Linked DNA regions of Homo sapiens: all the other regions are linked to region 3. The links are contacts of gene promoters, found by promoter capture Hi-C in human tissues and cell types (Jung and others, 2019). All regions are on one chromosome and are shown on one strand. The core of a region is centred on a gene start or on the middle of the fragment in contact, and the rest is flanking DNA. Distances in the headings are between cores, read along the strand shown. Region 1 overlaps LINC01524 (long intergenic non-protein coding RNA 1524). Region 2 overlaps LINC01524 (long intergenic non-protein coding RNA 1524). Region 3 holds the start of TSHZ2 (teashirt zinc finger homeobox 2). Region 4 overlaps LOC105372666 (a long non-coding RNA gene). Region 5 overlaps LOC105372666 (a long non-coding RNA gene). Region 6 overlaps TSHZ2 (teashirt zinc finger homeobox 2). Region 7 overlaps TSHZ2 (teashirt zinc finger homeobox 2).

Region 1 (2,872 bases), core at 135-2,634, 350 kb before region 3:
TAGGCCAGGCGTGATGGCTCACACCTGTAATCCCAGCACTTTGGGAGGCTGAGGTGGGTGGATCACGAGGTCAAGAGATCAAGACCATCCTAGCAACGTGGTGAAACCCCGTCTGTACTAAAAATACAAAAATTATCTGGGCATGGTGGCATGCGCCTGTAATCCCAGCTACTCGGATGCTGAGGCAGGAGAATCACTTGAACCTGGGAGGTGGAGGTTACAGTGACCTGAGATCGCGCCACTGCACTCCAGCCTGACAACAGAGTGAGACTCTGTCTCAAAATAATAATAATAATAAAATAAAATAAATAAAAAATAAAAAATATTGAGCCATAACATGTATTTGGGAGGAGGTTTATTGTTTAATTATCTAGTAACATGTAACAAATGATCCCCAAATTTAGTGATTTAAACTCACAAGTTTGTTTTGCTCATGATTTCTGGGTCAGGAATTAGGAAAGGGCTCAGCTGACTGGTTCTCACCTGGAGGTCCTCGTGTAGTACAGTCTGATATTGGGTGAAGCTGAGGCTGTAGTCATTTGAAGGATGTCCAAGTTGTGCCATTGCCATGGCTGGCAGCTTTGGGACCTTAACTGGGGCTGTTGGTCAGAGCATTCATGTGACCCTTTCACCACGATGGTCTCAGTGTAGCTGGACTTCTTGAATAGCAGCTCTTGCTCCCTCCAGAATAAGCATCTCAGGAGAAACCAGAGAGGGAAGCTGTATGGCTTTTCCTGACAGCCTTGGAAGTCACGTAGCATTCCCTCTGTCATAATGTATCCATCAAAGCTGTCATAAGCCTGCCTTGGCTCAAGGGCTGGGAATTAGACTATACTTTTTTTTTTTTTTTTTTTTAAGACGGAGTCTCACTCTGTCGCCAGGCTGGAGTGCAGTGGTGCGATCTCGGCTCACTGCAACCTCTGACTCCCAGGTTCAAGAAATTCTCCTGCCTCAGCCTCTCAAGTACCTGGGACTACAGGCACCTGCCACCACGCCCAGCTAATTTTTGTATTTTTAATACAGACGGAGTTTCACCATGTTGGCCAGGATGGTCTCGATCTCCGGACCTCATGATCTGCCCACCTCAGCCTCCCAAAGTGCTGGGATTACAGGCATGAGCCACCGCACCAGGCCTAGACTATACTTCTTGATGAGGGAATAGCAAGATCACATTGTAAGCCAGCCTATGGAATGGGAGAGATGACTGAGGCTATCTCTGAAAAATGTAAACCTCATCATTACCGATTAAGTTATTTATTAATAGATATTTATGGAATGCCTGCTATGTGCCAAGCTAAGAATATGAGTAAAAAGCATGAAAAAACACAAGATCCCTGCTGTTCTGGAGCCTATATTCTAGTACAGAAAATATCAGATCATGGTTTTAAATGTAAATCTATATGTTACATAATCTGCTGGATAACTTCCTTTTTTGTTTGTTTGTTTTGACAACTCCGAGTTGCTCATCATCATTTTTTTTTTACATCACAATATAACTGATAAAAAGCTCCTGTTAATGGTGGAAGAAGTTAGAGCCATTTTCTCCTTGCATGCAGATGCTTGCATTGTTAAAATTTCCTTCAATTCACATTACTTTGTAGGAATCTTTAAGCCACTAGTCCTTTTTGTGAGGGCTGCTATAGTTAAGAGGTGATAATGCTGTCTATGAATCCACATTACTAGGCATGTGTAAATTGCAAGAAACCTCAATAGGCTGTAGGCTAGAGGCAGTAAGAACACCATTGTCATCTGCAGAGACAATTTGACTTCCTCTCTTCGTATTTGAATACCCTTTATTTCTTTCTCTTGCCTGATTGCTCTGGCCAGAACTTCCAATACTATGTTGAATTGGAGTGGTGAGAGAGGGCATCCTTGTCTTGTACTGGTTTTCACAGGGAATGCTTCCAGCTTTTGCCCATTCAGTATGATATTGGCTATGGGTTTGTCATAAATAACTCTCATTATTTTGAGATATGTTCTATCAATACCTAGTTTATTGAGCATTTTTAGCATGAAGGGGTGTTGAATTTTATTGAAGGCCTTTTCTGCATCTATTGAGATGATCATGTGGTTTCTGTCATTGGTTCTGTTTGGATTACATTTATTGATTTGCATTCTACTATAAAGACACATGCATATATATGTTTATTGCAGCACTATTCACAACAGCAAAGACTTGGAACCAAACCAAATGTCCATCAATGATAGACTGGATAAAGAAAATGTGGCACATATACACCATGGAATACTATGCAGCCATAAAAAAGGATGAGTTCATGTCCTTTGCAAGGACATGGATGAAGCCAGAAACCATCATTCTCAGCAAACTAACACATGAACAGAAAACCAAACACTGCACATTCTCACTCATAAGTGGGAGCTGAACAATGAGAACACATGGACACAGGAGGGGAACATCACACACCAGGGCCTGTTGCGGGGGCGGTGGGGGGCTTGGGGAGTATAGCATTAGGAGAAATACGTAATGTAGATGATGAGTTGATGGGTGCAGCAAACCACCATGGCACATGTATACCTATGTAACAACCTGCGTGTTCTGCACATGTATCCCAGAACTTAAAGTATAATTTAAAAAAAAAAGAATGCCATTGCCTCCCCCATCCCCAATTCCTCTGAGTTGTAGAATTCCCACCTTCTCTCAGAATTTCTGCAATACCATATGTAACCGACGCAGAGGGAGTGAGGCAAGTGTCAAGCTGCTTATTAAAATATAACACAGTTTAATTTCTTTCTTATTTTTAGTTTGAAGTAAGTATAAATAGAAGGTCTAATATCTTTTTTAGCTTATTTTCCACTTTGGAGGACACTGCTCTAGAAAAAAATCAGAAAACACTCCTCACCAGTTAAAGAG
Region 2 (2,833 bases), core at 331-2,830, 320 kb before region 3:
GACTTCTCAGCCTCCATAACTGTGAAAAATAAATTTCTTTAAAATTACTCAGTTTCATGTATTCTGTTATAGGCAATAGAAAACAGACTAAGACACATAGTAAGTGCTCAACAAATTCTTAGTAATAGTATCACCCGGTTTTCCGTGAAAGATAAAGGAACAGATGTGAGATTATATTTTTATTTCACAGCAGGAATGAGTACTTTTTGTTATTTGTATGCTTGATTTTCTTTTTTTTCTTCAGGTCAAGAGGAACAGCATCGATTGTTAATATGCTGTCTGCTTTCAACCCCCAAAGGATTATTTTCAGAATGAAATGATCTGTGGTCTTTAAGGGGTGGGGATGGGAGGAGCTGAAGAACTCTCGATCCTTCGAAGAGGTCCCAGTGGACTTGATTTCTCAGTGGAAACAGAGGGATTTCCTTCTGCAGTGGGAAAGAGACACGAAGTGATAAACCGAGCACCCTCTTTGAAGATTTCCCAGTATATTTGTCCCTAGAGGAGTGCGCCTCCGGGAGATTTATTGTTGGAAGCTTTTATCCTCAAGCGTAATTTTTAGAAGTATGTATTTCCCTAGAAACAGAGTAGCTCCATTTAAAAGTCACAGGTGCCCCCAAGCTCTGCTGGGAAGATTACTTCAAGTTTCATTTAATACCCATCTCAGACCTGGAGGCAAATTATTTAGTTCATCACTCTGAAAATGGATTTTTTTTCCCTTCTACTTCCCATTTCAGCACCTGCCATCTTGTGGAAAGGGACTTGCTTCCCAAGAGATGAGAAATGGACAGGAGTGGAGCCTGAGTCCAAGTACTGTGATTTCTTATCTCCCACAAATGTGCAGGAATATTTAGTCAGGGAGATCATCTTCCTGGAGAAATTGGCCCATCCTACTCCTAGAGTGCTGTGTTAGTTGTAGTTCCTCCAGGTGCCACCTCGAAGACCAGGGTCAGAGTACAGTCGCTTACATGGGAGGTAAATCCACAAAACAGTGGCGGAAGAGGGGGAAAATGAGACAAGGATGGGAAGGCAATCAGGAAAGGGCATGTTATCAAGCAAGGCACTGTTCTGGGCAATTGGAGCTTACACCTGCTAGGGAAGCCTGAGACAGTGGGGAACATGTACCTCACAGTGATGCTCGTGAGGGCCGGGGGAACTGGGATATTAATCCACCAATTCCATCTGTTACTGATTGAGGGCTGCTTACTGGCGGTATTGATTCCCTGGCACTTCAGGTCAGAGAAAGCCTTCGGTCATAGAGAACATGAAGCCATGGGGCCCAGAGTGCCCAGGGCTGAGTGGATGTGGGCGATGGCCAATGACAATGGCTACCAACAGTGGATTGGATCTTTGGCATCTCATTTCTTCTAAGTCTCCTTAACCTCTGTGCTTGGTGCTGAGGTGAAGCAAACAATTAAGATCCAGTGTTGTCCTTAGGATGCTCACACTTCAGTGAGGGAGTTGAGGAAGCTAAACAGGTAAGCAATTTTGAGCCTGTGAAGTTAGTAGTCTACGAAGATATATTTAAGAATATGTGCATCGTTTGTGATATGCATATTATTTGTCAGGCTGTACTCTAAGCATTTACCTTGACTAACTTATTTGATGCCCACAAGAACCCTCTAAAGTGGGTGCATTTGCTGTCTCTTTTAGAGATAAGGAAGTGGAGGTATGGAAACATTAAAGTGTTCAGCTAGTCTGTAGTGAAGCCAGGATTTGAATACAGGCTATCTACTTCCAGAGCCCTGTTCTTATCCACTAGGCTATGGGTCAGGCTTTCTCAACCTTTATTATTATTGCCATTCTGTGCTGAATAATTCTTTGTCATAGGGGCTGTCCTGTGCATTGTAGGATGCTTGGCAGCATACCCTCTACCACTAGAAGCCAATAGTACCTGCCTCCCCACCTCCTGTTCTGACAACCAAAAATGTCTCCAGACATTGCCAAATGCCCACTGGGGCACAAATAGCACCAATTGAGAACCACTGCTGCCTATTATAAGGCAATCAGTTTTTCCTAGGGAAGTGTTATAGAAGGCAGATGGAAATTTCTTTTCTTGTTGTTTAATCTTCCTTCTCATAAAAATAAGGAGAAAAGTAGTATTTCAGAGCTGATCGCATCTCTAAATCAACAGCCAAATATCTCCCAGGGCAGAGAAAATGGAAGTAGAAATCAAGTTATTGAAAAATCAACTTAAGTTTGTGTGTGTGTGTGTGTGTGTGTGTGTGCACCTGCGTTGTAAACAGGGCATCCTTGCCCACTGTGCTCTGCTGCCAGCCCTTCGAACAGGCTGTTTCCATGGTCATTTTTAAAATGTTGTCTTGCAACATGGTGAACTGAGGAATTAGCAAAAAGACCGTTAAAGGAGAATAGGCAGTGTGTTCACACGGGATTGTTTGTCTTATTATTTTTCATTTTCCTTGGGCGATTTTATTTGTAATTTTTTCGGAGTTTTGTTTTGAACTCTCTTTATCCAAGTAAATACATCCTTCTTCCTTCTGTCACAAGCTGGTGGATTCCAAGCTTTATTTTCCAAATCCTCCCAACCCTATTTTATCCATGTGGCTTCTTGGAGCTGGTCAAGTCTGCAAACTGATCCTTGAGATTTTGGGGTGTTCTGTGTGAGGACAGTAGCCCTAATTTTGGCATTAAAGCGTCCTTGTTTGTCTCCTTTCTTTCTTCTTCCAAGATACTCTTTAAAAATTCAGTCTTCTCCAAATTTGGCTTTGTAGCTAATCTATGTGATCAGAGAAGCATCATTTTAGTGTTGGAAGCCTGAATAATTCGCTTTTTCAGTTGGTCGTGGAAGTAAAATTCCAGATGTTTAAGCATTCTT
Region 3 (2,700 bases), core at 81-2,580:
TGCTTTGCCCTCTCACTGGAAGGAGCACTCCTTGAGGGCATGGTCTAGGTTCACCTTGTTCACAGACTTGCCCCCAACACCTCAAAAGGTGCCTGGCCGATAGCAGAACTCAATAATCACATGTTTGTTTCAATCTCTCTGTGCTCAAATGCCATATCCTACATTGAATCTAGAGCCACCCACCCCCTTTTAGACACTATTACAGCACTCAGCTTAACGTCTTCATGGAGCGAATCACTCAAAGTATCCTGTTTATTTGCTTGCTTACTTTTCATTCATTCAACAAATATTTTACTGGGCACTTATTATATGTCTTGTGCTTTGCCAGCACTTGGGGATATAAGAGAACAAAGAGGCAAAAATCCTTCCTTCCATTGGAGCTTACATTCAAGAGGGGAACTTGTACAATCAACAGAATAGAAAACTGTCTATAACCTGTGTGACACTCACTGATCAGCTCACTGGGGAATAACAAAATGGAGAAATGGGGCAGGGAGTGTGTGTGTGTGTGTGTGTGTGTATTTTAGGTGAGGTAGACCTTTGGGAAAAGGGGACATTTAAGCAAAGATTGGATAGCTGGGGGGCACTTGTCTGCACTCCCCCATTAGAATATAAATACCAACATGGCCACCACCTTCCCTTTCTCTGTGGCCTCTGTGTCTCCAGAATAGGCACATAGTAGATGCTCAATAAACATTCTTCAAAGGAAACAAAAAGAGGAGTATATGATTAGACCTTAAAGTAGACAGAAGGGAGATTTTTGTTTTTGTGACCACCCATTGATTAGCGAGAAAGTGGGAGGGACAGGGGCACTAAATTGAAGGGGTCGTGGGGAGCACATTTTGGTGGGGGCAGGTTAAGACTTACAGGATGGAGATCCTCACTGGATAAGGTCCCCTCCCCCTTCCCAGCCCCGAGCAAACCTAAGTTCTCCCTCTCCTAAGATTGTGCATGGTCCCTGCTGGTCAGCCAACCTGGCCCCCCTGAATCTCCCTCCACAGCCTCCCAGCTTCAGAGTTCAGCCATCATCACACTGCCTCCTTTTCTCCCGCACCCCTTCCCTCCTCACCTCCTTTCCTCCCGCCCCCGCCCCTTCCGCCTCCCGGAGGGGTGTCCCCGCGCCCGGTGGGCACGCCCTCGCCCCGGCGGAGAGGGCGCACAGAGGGGCCTGGGCCGGCGCGCCGGGGCCCCCGCCCCCAGCCCCTCTCCCCTGCGGGACGCTGTCCCTTTAATAGGCTCCCGCTGCCTGGCGCTCTGCGGCTGGGGAGTAAATTTCTCCCTGTCATCAGGTCGCGGGGAGAGGAGGAGGAGGAGGAGTTTGTTAATGTTCAGTTTGTTCAGCGGGATCGATGTTTGCTGGCATCGCCTCGCCCTGTCTTGTGTGTGTGTGCGAGGGTGTGTGTGTGTGTTTGTGTGTGTGTGCATATGTGGGGGGTGTGAGTGTGTGTGTGCGAGGAAGCGGGGGTGCGTGCGCGTGTGAGTGCGTGTGTGAGTGTCTGTGTGTGTGTCTGTGTGTGTGTGTGAGTGAGTGAATTCCAGATTTTCTGTCTTTCCAAAACCCGCTCCTGTCCTCTCGCATATCACTCACAGACGGGGATCTGACAGCAGCCACAAACCTACAGTGAGTGATCGCTCTCCCCCCGGCACGAATCCGCCATAGAGATCGGCGAGGAGGAGGAGGAGGAGGAGGAAGAAAAGAAGGAGGAGGTGGAGGAGGAGGTGGAGGAGGAGGAGGAGGAGGGAAAGAGGAGAAGGAAGAAGAAGAAAAAGAAGAAACCCACTACCTTCCCAGGATTGCCTTTTTTTTTTCCTTATCTTTACGCGCGAGTGTGCCTGTGGCGCGTGTGCGCCCCTCGTCCCTTCCATCCGAACCCGGGCTTGGATGTTTAATAAAGAAATCAAGTGTCTCAACAGTCACCAAAAAAAAAAAAAACCGCAAAAACAAAACCAAAAAAATTCCAAAAGCAAAAACAAAAAAGAGAGAGGAAAAAAAATTCAAAATAAACAAACAAACAAACAAGGCAGAACCAACCTCTACTTCAAAGCAGCCGGCACAAGCCACCCGTGTCTGCCACCCAGAGAGGGGGGTCTCTGGCCCGTGGTGGAGGAGTTGCAGGGGGGATCGTCAGGGGGACAGAGGCCGAGTGACGTCCTAGGAGCCACCGGGCAAGAGGCGGAGGAGACCCAGAGAGGCCAGAGAGACAGCGGGCCCCAGCGCGCGGCTCGGGGCTGGGGCGCCAGAAGTGGGACTGGAGCGAAGTAGAGGATGCCGAGGAGAAAACAGCAGGCACCCAAGCGGGCGGCAGGTAAGAGAAACGGCTCCGCTTCGGGGCTGCCCTGTGCGCCGAGCTCCTCGCCCGCCCTCCTTGCCCCTGGGTGCCCGGGGGCACCACCCACTTAAGCTTTCGGGGGAGTTTGCGCCGGGTGCCCTTCTAATAACCCCGTCCTCTCTCGCCTTCTCTGGTCTCCCAAATCCTCCCCTTCCAAGCTCCGGTTGGGTTGGGGTGAGCTATCCCACCAAGCCTTTCCTCCTTAAACTTTCTTTCCTCCACCCTCTACCCCACCCCTAACTTTCTTCCAGTCTGTTTCTTGCCTCTCGGGCCAAAGTCGGATTGAGGATTTGGGGTGCGGAGTAGGGAGACAGCCCCTCCACCCCTGCATCCCTCTGCGTGGTCAGTGCCAGTGGCTTTTGGCCTCCAG
Region 4 (2,700 bases), core at 151-2,650, 440 kb before region 3:
AATTTTCAAATAAAATCCTGGTGCTTCCTCCATAGTGTGTGTTGTTACCGGATATTTTGTTTGGCATTTATTTACTTATAGGTTCATTTCTGTCTCCCCACTACGATGTAAGCTCCAGGGGACCAGAAACTTGGTCATTTAGTTTATGGTTCTACCCCCACTGACTAAGATCCTGGCACACAGCAGGTGCTCAATAAATACTTGTTGAGTGAATGCAGAAATGAGTTGTTGTTGTCAAAAGAAAATGGCTTTGGAATTCTGTGTTGTCCTGGGGGAATACTGATGGGTCCAGGCAGTGACCTTACTGCTCTTGGACAGGCTCATTTATTGGTTTATTCAACCAATCTTTATTGAAGACCTACTATGTGCCAGGCCCTGTCCTAGGCACTGCAGATTCAGCAGTTAACAACGCATAGTTCCCTAACCTCACAGAACTTACTTTCTTATGAGGAAAGCAGAAATCAAACACATGCTTACACAAAGGATCAATTTCATTAAAACTTGGTTACTCTCTTGAAGAAAAAAGTATAGAGCCATAAGAATATGTGATATGGGAGCCTCATCTAGCTTGGGGAGACTAGGAAGCCTTCCCAGGGAAAGTCACACTTAACCTGAGACCTTAGAGATTAATAGGAGAGTATCTGGAGCAGAGGGAAAGCATGTGCAAAGGTCCTGGGGAAGGAGCAGCTTCATGTTTGAAATACAGCAAGCAACCAGTGTGGCTGCAGAAGAGAGAGTGGGGAGGACAGTGAGAAGCAAGATGCAAAGAAAGTTTCAGGTCACAGATCCCATTACTGGGTATATACCCAAAGGATTATAAATCATGCTACTATAAAGACACATGCACATGTATGTTTATTACGGCAGTATTCACAATAGCAAAGGCTTGAAACCAACCCAAATGTCCATCAATGACAGACTGGACTAAGAAAATGTGGCACATATACACCATGGAATACTATGTAGCCATAAAAAAGATGAGTTCATGTCCTTTGCAGGGACATGGATGAAGCTGGAAACCATCATTCTAAGCAAACTATCACAAGGACAGAAAACCAAACACCACATGTTCTCACTAGTAGGTGGGAGTTGAACAACGGACAAAGGGCGGGGAACATCACACACCGGGGCCTGTCAGGGGGTAGGGGGTTGGGGGAGGGATAGCATTAGGAGAAATACCTAATGTAAATGACAAGTTGATGGGTACAGCAAACCAACATGGCACATGCATACCTATGTAACAAATCTGCACGTTGTGCACATGTACCCTAGAACTTAAAGTGTAATAAAAAAAAAAAAAGAAAAAAGTTTCGAGTCAAATTACTAGATCTGTGAAGGCCCGTTTCTGCCCTTATCCTGAAAGAAATGAGGTGTCATTGAAGTGTTCCAAATAAGATAGGAAAGTCATCAAATTTTAATTTTTAAAATTTTATTGAAATTAATTAGAAATAAAATTATGTTTACACAGTGAGAGGAGTACGTCTTTAGCTTTCCTTGGATTCTCTTAAAAGAAGGAAGTTGACTCATACTCTTAAAGTGGGGTAAATTAGTAATGAGCTGGTGGTTGGAGGCAAAAGGGCTTACCTCCAATTATCTGTGTGTTAATCCAGTCCTATTCCAGGGACATTTTTGTCTGCAATCCTCAGAGATTTTATGAGATTGACTGGTTTTGTTTTGAATTAAATAAGAAATTGCTAAAGTGCCAGTTGTTCAAAATGTGTTTTTCCCCTTTGCTAAGTTTGCATGGATAGTTACTGGCAAACATACCACGAGTACCTCCTATGCATCACGCCTTAGTTGTCAGGGCTAGAAATGACGTAGATGTATTCTCCGTAAGCCGTATAAATGCTGCTCAACCAAGTGTTTCATAAATGGCTGAATGACAAACAGGGTGTTCCCCATCAGGAGTGGATATGTAAATATCACAACCTGGCCCTTGTTAGAAGAGGTATATAAAAAAGAAAGTGCTGTGGAAGAAACCAATCCTTTTTGGGCATAAAAAGAATGAGAGATCAGAGAAGGGACATTTGATTTGGGCTTTGAAGAATAAATTGGAATTTCTGAGCAAAGAGTATAACATAAACAATGGTCAACATGCCTAACTGCTCAAAGTTTAGTTATTGTGTGATTTAAGAGTATAGTAACTCATATTTAATGGTGTATTTCAGTAGACTTAAAACTTAGCCTTAACCAAAGCAACAAGAGCTATGAAAACATGCATGTTCATTTCTTTAAATGTGTATTAGAAAACAAACTAAAATTAGCACACGAACCCATGTTTTCATAGCTCTTGTTGCTTAAGGCTAAGTTTTTTTAAAAGGTTTGTTTCTAATGCACATTTAAAGAAATGAACATCCTATAGCTTGCCTATCCAATGTCCATTTTCCCCCTTCCTCTTCTAACAGAACCCCAATGTATGAGGTTACCCACCCATCCTCCATGCAATCTTGTGCTTCAAGGAAAGCTGACCCCATTCCCACCTCAAGTAAATAGAACTTACTAAGACAGGTATCAGAATCTTGTTTTCCTTTCCAGTGATTGGCTCAGGAGAGGTCATATGATCCAGCTCTGGCCAATGAGAAGTAAGGAAAGATCTGCCCAGGGATTTCTGGGAAAAGTTTTCTCCTTAAGGAGACACCAGAGAGGACTTTTCTGCATTCTGTAGCTGCAGTAGCTCATCTTCCCACCAGGAAAAGAGCT
Region 5 (2,700 bases), core at 187-2,686, 470 kb before region 3:
TTCACCTATAAAGACACACATAGACTGAAAATAAAGGGATGGAAAAAAGTTATCCCATGCAAATGAAAACTAGAAAAGAGGAGGAGTAGCTATACTTATATTGGACAAGATAGAGTTCAAGAGAAAAACCTATAAAAAGAGACAAAAAAGGTCATTACATAAAAGAGTAAATTCAGCAGGAGGATACAACAATTATAAATATATATGCACCCAACAGTAAAGCTCCCAGATATACATGAAGCAAATATTATATTATTATTAGAGCTAAAGCGAGAGCTAGACTCCAACACAATAATATCTAGAGACTTACACCCCACTTTCAGCATTGAACAGATCATCCAGACAGAAAATCAACAAAGAAACATTGGACTTAATCTGCACTAGAGACCAAATGGACTTAATAGATATTCACAGTACATTTCCCTTAACACCTGCAGAACACAATTCTTCTCCTCAGCACATGGATCATTCTCAAGGATCGACTATACATTAAGCCCCAAAACAAGTCTTAAAACATTCAAAAATTGAAATCCTATCAAGTGTCTTGTTTGACCACAATGGAATAAAACTAGAAATCAACAACAAGAGGAACTTTGGAAACTATACAAAAACATGGAAATTAAATAATATGCTCCCGAATGACCAGTGGGACAATGAAAAAATTAAGAAGGAAATTTAAAAATTTCTTGAAATAAATGAAAATAGAAACACAACACATCAAAATTTATAGGATACAGCAAAAGCAGCACTAAGGGGAAAGTTTATAACAATAAGTGCCTACATCTAAAAAGCAGGAAAACTTCAAATAAACAACTTAATGATACATCTCAAAGAAATACAGAAGCTAGAGCTAACCAAACTTAAAATTAATAGAAGAAAATAAATAATAAACATTGGAGCAGAAATTAAAGAAACCAAAAAATACAAAAGATCAGTGAAAGCAGTGGTTGATTTTTTTTGAAAAGATAAACAAAATTGACACACTGTTTGCCTAAGAAAAAAGAGAGGAGACTGAAATAAATAAAATCAGAGGTGAAAAAGGAGAAATTACAACTGATAACACAGAAATTCGAAGTATTATTAGAGGCTCCTATGAGCAACTATATGCCAATAAATTGGAAAACCTAGAAGAAATGGATAGATTCTTAGACACATACAACCTATGAAGATTAAAACGTAAAGAAATTCAAAATCTGAACAGAGCAATAACAAGTAATGAGATCGAAGGCATGATAAGAAGTCTCTTAGCAAAGATAAGCCCAGGACCTGATGGCTTCACTGTTGAATTTTACTAAACTTTTAAAGAACTAATACCAATTCTACTCAAAGATTTCAAAAAATAGAGGAGGAGAGAATACTTCCAAACTCATTCTACAAGGCCAGTATTATCTTCCTGCCAAAAACAAAAGACATCAGAAAAAGAAAACTACAGTCCAGTATCCCTGATGAGGATTGATGCAAAAACCCACAATAAAATACTAGCAAACAGAATTCAACACCACATCAAAAAAAAAAAAATCATTTGTTATGACCAAGTGGGATTAATCCAGGGATGCAAGGATGGCTCAATATATACAATTCAATTAATTTGATTCACTCTATCAACAGGATGAAGGGCAAACACCACATGATCATTTCAATCGATGCTAAAAAAGCATTTGATAAAATCCAACATCTCTTTATGATAAAAACCCTCAAAAAACTGGGTATACGAGGAACGTACCTCAACATAATAATATCATACTGAATGGGGAAAAACTGAAAGCTTTTCATCTAAGATCTGGAACACAACAAGGATGCCCAATTTTATTATAATTATTCAGCAAAGTACTGGAAGTCCTAGCTAGGGCAATCAGATAAGAGAAAGAAATAAAAGGCATCAAATTTGAAAATAAGAAGTTAAATAATCCTTGCTTGCAGATGATATAATCTTATATTTGGAAAAACCTAAAGACGCCACCAAAAAACTATTAGAGTGGATAAACAAATCAGTAAAGTTGCAGGATACAAAATCAACATACAAAATCAGTAGTATTTCTATATGCCAACAGCAAGCAATGTGAAAAAGAAATTGAGAAAGCAATCTCATTTACAATAGCCACAAATAAAATAAAATACATAGGAAGAAAACAAAAAAAGTGAAAGATCTCAATAATAAAAAGTATAAAACATTGATGAAAGAAAGAGGATAACAAAAAAATGGAAATATACTTCATGTTTTCATAGATTGGCAGAATCAATATTGTTAAAATGTCCACACTACCCAAAGCAATCTACAGATTAAATGCAATCTCTATCAAAATACCAATGACTTTCTTCACAGAAATAGAAAAAAAAATCCTAAAATTTATTGAGAACTACAAAAGACCCATAATAGTCAAATATATCCTGAGAAAAAAAGAACAAAACTGAAGTAATCACATTACCTGACTTCCAGTTATCCTATGGAGCTATAGTAACAAAAGCAGCATGGTACTGACATAAAGACACATAGACCAATAGAACAGAATAGAAAACCCAGAAATAAATCCATGCGTCTTCAGTGAACTCATTTTTGACAGAGGTGCCAAGAATATACACTGGGGTGAGGACAGTCTCTTCAATAAGTGGTGCTGTGAAAACTGGATATCCATATGCAGCAGAATGAAACTATACCCCTATCTCTTGCCATATACAAAAACCAAATAAAATGAATTAAAG
Region 6 (2,841 bases), core at 330-2,829, 370 kb after region 3:
GCAGAATGTCTTCCTCAGGAAAAGCTCCGTTTGGGCCTTATTCAACGGATTGAATTCTCCCTGCATGCATTGTTGAAGATAATCTCCTTTGCTTAAAGTCAATTTCTTATGGACTTTCATCACATCTAGAAAACACGTTCACAGCAACACCTAGATAATTACTGGTTGAATACTGTGGGACTGTTGCCTTGCCATGTTGACACATAAAACCAACCATCACAAAGGGTGCCATGATTTTTTTAAAAAGTCCCTTCTAACAAGGTTTTGCCTTTTTCATTAGAGAAGGACCCATTCTCTGTATGTTTCATTGGACGGAACTGTCACATGACCACCCCTGGTTACCACAGAGGCTGGAGCTGGAGTATGTTGTTCCTCAGCCACTCTAGGAGGGATATACCCAGGGATGTCAGCTGTGAGTGGATGCTGAGTGAGCCAATCCATAGGATCTTCCATGACCTAGTTACTGAACATCTAATGAGTACAAGAGGCTGAACAACCACGTGTGGCTCAGATTCGATTCTTGTTAATCATTACCAAAGATAATTAAATAACATTGACTCCCAACGTGAAAAACTCATTTCCCTTCCATGCGTGGCAGCTGAAACTGCTTTTTGATGTAGAGTAGGGCTATAAAATGCCTTTTAAAGTGTTTAAGCTAAAATGGAAACCCTGTTAAAGAAAAATATTTAGAAAGTGCCTTGGTACTAATTGTACGCTAGAGCAGACATTGGGAAACTGTCATGTGAGTTGCTTAGTCATGAATCACTGATTGGAATATGGTTCTTCAGTGCTTCCCCTGGCTAAAGCACAGGCTCAAAGCTATGTTGTCCATGTCCCTGGCCAGGCAGCATGAGACGTGTTCATGAGGAAGTTAGAAAACCTCTCTGACCCTCCATCTCCTCACCTGCAGAGCAGGGACACACCATAGTGTGTCCATGAAGTCAAACGTGGTCCTGCAAACTCTTTGCAAGGTGCTGGCCTGTCGCAGGCATTCACCAGCCATGAGGTTATTGTTACTATTCCACCTCATAATTTATCTGAGCAGAGAGAATGTCTTCATAATTCTTTCCACATAAAATTGAAGGGTTTTAGTATAAAAAGAGTGATGGGCTGGGTTGGAGGAGGATTTAACCCTGCCAAACCATCATGCTCTCTATCTAACGTGGGATGGTGAGAACAATGGAAACATCGGTGAAGCCCATTCGCCTCTCCAAGGAGGGTCTCCTATGATGACTGCCTGGGTCCTCCCTACTAGAAAAAGTAACACAATTAGTATTCTCTCTTCCAAAAGGAGTAATTCAGGCACTTTATGATTAAATAACTTGTCCCAGGTCAAACAAGTAGTAACTGCCCACACTAACTTGAAATCGACAAGGTGACTTTGCCTTCTAGGGGACAGTTGACAATGCCTAGAGACATGGTTGATCATGACTTGGAGGGCTGGGGTGGTACTGGCATCTGGCAGATAGACACCAGGGAAGCTGTGGAATGTCCTACAGTGCCTGGGACAGCCCACCCCCTACAAGAAAGGAGCACCCAGCTCCAAATGTTAAGAGTACTCAGCTCTAAATGTCAGGAGTACTCAGCTCCAAATGTCAGGAGTACTCAGCTCCAAATGTCAGGAGTACTCAGCTCCAAATGTCAGGAGTACTGAGGGCGAGAAGTCCTGCTCCAGAGTCCCTGTGAGCCTTTCCTCACAGGTTTTCATGAGGGTCAGATGAGGCCAGCACTGCGTCAGCGTTCTGTAAACCTCAGGCAGGAGCCAGGCATGCATTGCAGTGATGGGAAGCACTGATGAAGCCTTCTTAGCAAAGCACAGACGTGTTGGCCAATGCATACATTTAAGAAAGTGGGTTCCAAATTTTCTCTCTCTGAATCATTGGCAAATAACAACAAATGACAAAGAATTAAGCTCAGCATTGTCACCAAACTAGCCATGTCACACCTGTAACAGTTAAATACCTCAGTCCACAAGCTTGGGTGCAGAAGAAATCTAACATTCTCTTATTTTCTTCACCTGAACTTAATTTATATTTCCAGTCCCTAATCTTAGTGGCAGATACTTCATCTTAGTCAACTCAGGACTCCTTCCTCTTCCAAGAGATACAGCTAATACCAGGCCCTATGCAGGGAGTGGTGGGCACATTCAGGCCAGGGAAAGAGGGTTCATTGGCCAAGGTGGCTGCGGAGGCCTGAGTTGTCCCCAGCCTCAAGCTCTCATAGTATTTTCTGGTGGTCAAGGGCCAGGGCATTACTGGCTGTTCCTGAGCCACTTTGAACCCTGAAAGGCCTCATCATGGCGTATTCTGCCCTCAAACTTGGGAGACAGCTCCGTCCTTCTCACACTGGGGCACGTGGGAGCTCTGTAAGGTGGCCACAGCCAGCTACATGATTTTCAGGGCCCAGTAAAAAATGAGCATTCAGGATCCCCTGTTCAAATATTAATAGGAATTTCAAGATGGCAAAGTGCATGAAGCCAAGCACAGGACGCTATGCAGTTGCACAGGTCAAATGCCCATGAAGCTGGCCCTGGAATGACCTTCAGGCCCATCTGCTGAGATGCTCCTCTCAGCCACTGTGCTGCCAATCCTCCCCTCCTGCACTGGAGCCCAGGAAAGCTGGGGGACTCGCTGCTCTCCTGGGCACTGCTGGAGGAAGGGATGCAGGTTATTGCTACTCCTAAATCCACGCAAAACTTTTAGGATTTGTATCATCTCCCCTTCCTCTGGAACACCAGGCAGCATCTCACTTCCCAGCCCACCTGCAGCTCTCATCTGCCCCCCAAATCCCAATGTGTGTCTGCTCAGGCCCAGCAGGGAACACCTGTGCTTTACTCATGCC
Region 7 (2,801 bases), core at 49-2,548, 260 kb after region 3:
GGTAGGTGCAAACCCACAGCCAACCCAGAAAAATTCTGGTGAGTGGGTAAGTTTTGCTCTCCTTTGGGAGTTGAAAATGTCAAAGATTCATGAAATTTTCATTGAGTCATTCAACAAATACTTTTTTGAGAACTTACCAAGCACCATGCACAGGTGCCTCCATACAGCATCAAGCCAAAGAGACAAAGATACCGGTTCTTACAAAGCTTACAAACTAACAAAGAAAGATCACAATTAACAATAGAAATAATAAAGAAGTAAATTCTGTAGTAAGCTACAAGTTGGTAAGTATGAAGGCAAAAGAAAAATAGAACAGAAGAAGGGAATTGGGAGTTCTGAAAGAATGGGGAGACTGGTTGCAACGTTAAATAGGGTGACTGGAGTAAAGTGCCATCAGGAAATGATATTTAGGCAAAGATTTGAAGGAAGTTAGGAAAAGTGCAGAGACAGCAGCCAGCGCAAAGGCCTAAGATGGGAATGTTCCTGGCTTATGGGAAATAGCAAAGAGGTCAGTATGGCTGGAGCAGAAAATCCAGGAAGAGGGAAATAGAAGAAAGCGTTGGAGACCAAGTGGAGAGCTAACATACATAGAAATCTGAGGGCCATGGTGAGAACATTGACTTTTTCTTTGAGTGGGAAGAATGTCCCTTGGGAGGTTTTGAGCAGGGAAGTGACAGGATCTGATGTATCTTTCATTCTGACTGCTAGGAGTGTTAAGCATTGACAGTAAGCCACAAGGATGGGATCAATTCATGGAGGAGTCAAGGTGGCATGAGAGGTGCCCAGTTGAGACCATTGTTCACTTTCAGTCCCCTAGGAGCGCACCTCGTCACTTAATGTCTCATTGCAGAAAGTTGAGGTGGAAGATGCTTGGGTCTTGGGTCTCTGAGCTTGGTTTTGTTGGGCGGGGCGGGGGGGGGGGAATGGGGGAGGGCGTGTTTGTTTGTTTGTTTGTTTTTGAGCCAAAGTCTCACTCTGTCACCCAGGCTGGAGTACAGTGTCATGATCTTGGCTCACTGCAACCTCTGCCTCTTGGGTTCAAGTGATCCTCCCACCTCAGCCTCCCAAGTAGCTGGGATTACAGGCGTGGACCACCATACCCAGCCAATTTTTTTGTATTTTTAGTAGAGACGGGGTTTCACCATGTTGGCCATGCTGGTCTCAAACTCCTGACCTCATGTGATCCACCCACCTCAGCCTCCCAAAGTGCTGGGATTACAGGTGCGAGCCACCACCCCTGGCCAGGACTTGAGTTCATATCCTGCTTCTGCCAGTGTGTACCAGAAAGCCACTTTCATCTCTTCTGCTAGCCCGAAATCCCTCACATAAATGTAAAAATATCTACCTCACAGGATTATTTCCAAAATAAAATGTATATTGCATACTGTACCAGGCACACAGTAGGTACTTGAAGAAATAAAAGGGAAGCTCTCTCTTTATATATCCCCAATAATGAGAGAGATTTTATGAGATGCAAATTCTGTCGCCTGGAAGCTATTTAGATTTACAATCTTTATTTTAAGTTGGTTTGCCTGAGTAATTAATTCAAAGTTAAGATTTTATTGGTGAGGTGCCCAGGATTTTAGCAATTGAGTTAGTTGAACATGAAAGGTCTTTAAGAATGAAAGATAAAATAAAGTCTGTTCCATTGTAGCTCATCTTCCTGTGAAGCAGATTAGTTCACTCCTGATTGGTAAATAGGTTAATGATATGAATATAATGAGAACGTCACATTGATGCACATGTAATTTTTTCCAACACGTTATTGTTTAGCACCACTGAGTAACAGCAGCCAAATGCAAAGTTCACCAACACAGCTGAATCCAGCAAAGAAAGCAGTCAATTCATAAAAGTCAATCCTCTTAGCTCAGGTTAACCATGTAAATCTGCCTCAGAAGCCTGACTGTCACCTCTCCCTGATTTTTAAAAATTTGACCTGCCTGTAACTTCACAATCTCACTACCTCTTTAAACTCCTTTCTATCTAACTACCATCACTTCTTTATTTACAAAGGTTAAGTCTTTTATTTGCTCTGGCATTCCTTTACTTATTATGAATTGAACAAGTGTATCTAACCCAACCAGTAGGTTTATTATGTTTGTTATTGTTTGCTTACTCTCTGGATGCTAAGTTGCTTACTTTCTAAGTGGTCTATCCTAACCTTATTTTTCCCATAAGTGCTATAATTTTAACTGCAAAGCTGTGCAAAATGCAAGATTTGTCTAGGAACACACATTGCATTATAGCAGAAACACACGTGCCTCCACTATACACATTGGTAATGGCAGGGCATCATGGAAAACTGACATGCCACAAGTAAGCTAGTACACAGCTGTGAGAGGGCACTGGGTCTGGGGTCTAATGAACTCACTTCAAAGCTAGATTCAATCAGTTTCTGGGCATGTGACTGTATTAGTTCATTCTCACGCTGCTCTAAAGAACTGCCTGAGACTGGGTTATTTATAAAGGAAAGAGGTTTAATTGACTCACAGTTCTGCATTACTTGAGAAGCCTCAGGAAACTTACAATCATGACGGAAGGCAAAGGAGAAGCAAACATGTCCTTCTTCACATGGCAGCAGGAGAGAGAAGTACAGTATGAAGTGGGGAAAAGCCCCTTATAAAACCATCAGATCTCATGAGAATTCACTCACTATTATAAGAACAGCACAGGGGAACTGCCCCCATAATCTAATCAATTCCTCCCACAAGGTCCCACCCCTAACACGTAGGGCTTACAATTCAAGATGAGGTTTGCATGGGGACACAGAGCCAGACCACATCAGTGATCTCAGGAAAGTT

Evidence for each region. Contacts are between HindIII fragments. The study calls those that stand out against the background at their distance.
Region 1: a contact is called between a fragment that was not itself captured here and the fragment with the promoter of TSHZ2 in region 3, in 3 of the 25 tissues and cell types used here (lymphoblastoid cells, mesenchymal stem cells and spleen).
Region 2: a contact is called between a fragment that was not itself captured here and the fragment with the promoter of TSHZ2 in region 3, in 2 of the 25 tissues and cell types used here (mesenchymal stem cells and spleen).
Region 4: a contact is called between a fragment that was not itself captured here and the fragment with the promoter of TSHZ2 in region 3, in 4 of the 25 tissues and cell types used here (IMR-90 fibroblasts, dorsolateral prefrontal cortex, lymphoblastoid cells and 1 more).
Region 5: a fragment that was not itself captured here is called in contact with the fragment with the promoter of TSHZ2 in region 3 in 1 of the 25 tissues and cell types used here (dorsolateral prefrontal cortex).
Region 6: a fragment that was not itself captured here is called in contact with the fragment with the promoter of TSHZ2 in region 3 in 2 of the 25 tissues and cell types used here (dorsolateral prefrontal cortex and spleen).
Region 7: a contact is called between a fragment that was not itself captured here and the fragment with the promoter of TSHZ2 in region 3, in 2 of the 25 tissues and cell types used here (dorsolateral prefrontal cortex and lymphoblastoid cells).

The regions. Positions count from the first base shown.
Region 1 is chr20:52,625,651-52,628,522 of GRCh38, forward strand. All of the region lies in intron 2 of LINC01524 (long intergenic non-protein coding RNA 1524), which reads left to right. The region is part of intron 7 of LOC105372666 (a long non-coding RNA gene); the gene reads left to right. Among named protein-coding and RNA genes, the nearest start is that of LINC01524, 6.2 kb to the left of the region's middle. The HindIII fragment of the contact is 3,873 bases long and covers 1-2,872 here.
Region 2 is chr20:52,646,246-52,649,078 of GRCh38, forward strand. LINC01524 (long intergenic non-protein coding RNA 1524) reads left to right here. Exons shown (of 3, transcript NR_110038.1): 3 at 245-2,833. The region is part of intron 7 of LOC105372666 (a long non-coding RNA gene); the gene reads left to right. Among named protein-coding and RNA genes, the nearest start is that of LINC01524, 27 kb to the left of the region's middle. The HindIII fragment of the contact is 3,037 bases long and covers 63-2,833 here.
Region 3 is chr20:52,971,028-52,973,727 of GRCh38, forward strand. TSHZ2 (teashirt zinc finger homeobox 2) reads left to right here and starts at 1,331. Exons shown (of 3, transcript NM_173485.6): 1 at 1,331-2,306. The coding sequence starts at 2,267. The HindIII fragment of the contact is 6,451 bases long and covers 1-2,700 here.
Region 4 is chr20:52,531,053-52,533,752 of GRCh38, forward strand. All of the region lies in intron 5 of LOC105372666 (a long non-coding RNA gene), which reads left to right. Among named protein-coding and RNA genes, the nearest start is that of LINC01524, 88 kb to the right of the region's middle. The HindIII fragment of the contact is 9,491 bases long and covers 1-2,700 here.
Region 5 is chr20:52,505,887-52,508,586 of GRCh38, forward strand. The region is part of intron 4 of LOC105372666 (a long non-coding RNA gene); the gene reads left to right. Among named protein-coding and RNA genes, the nearest start is that of LINC01524, 110 kb to the right of the region's middle. The HindIII fragment of the contact is 3,410 bases long and covers 1-2,700 here.
Region 6 is chr20:53,337,151-53,339,991 of GRCh38, forward strand. All of the region lies in intron 2 of TSHZ2 (teashirt zinc finger homeobox 2), which reads left to right. Among named protein-coding and RNA genes, the nearest start is that of TSHZ2-AS1, 170 kb to the right of the region's middle. The HindIII fragment of the contact is 5,349 bases long and covers 1-2,841 here.
Region 7 is chr20:53,234,227-53,237,027 of GRCh38, forward strand. The region is part of intron 1 of TSHZ2 (teashirt zinc finger homeobox 2); the gene reads left to right. Among named protein-coding and RNA genes, the nearest start is that of TSHZ2, 260 kb to the left of the region's middle. The HindIII fragment of the contact is 5,488 bases long and covers 1-2,801 here.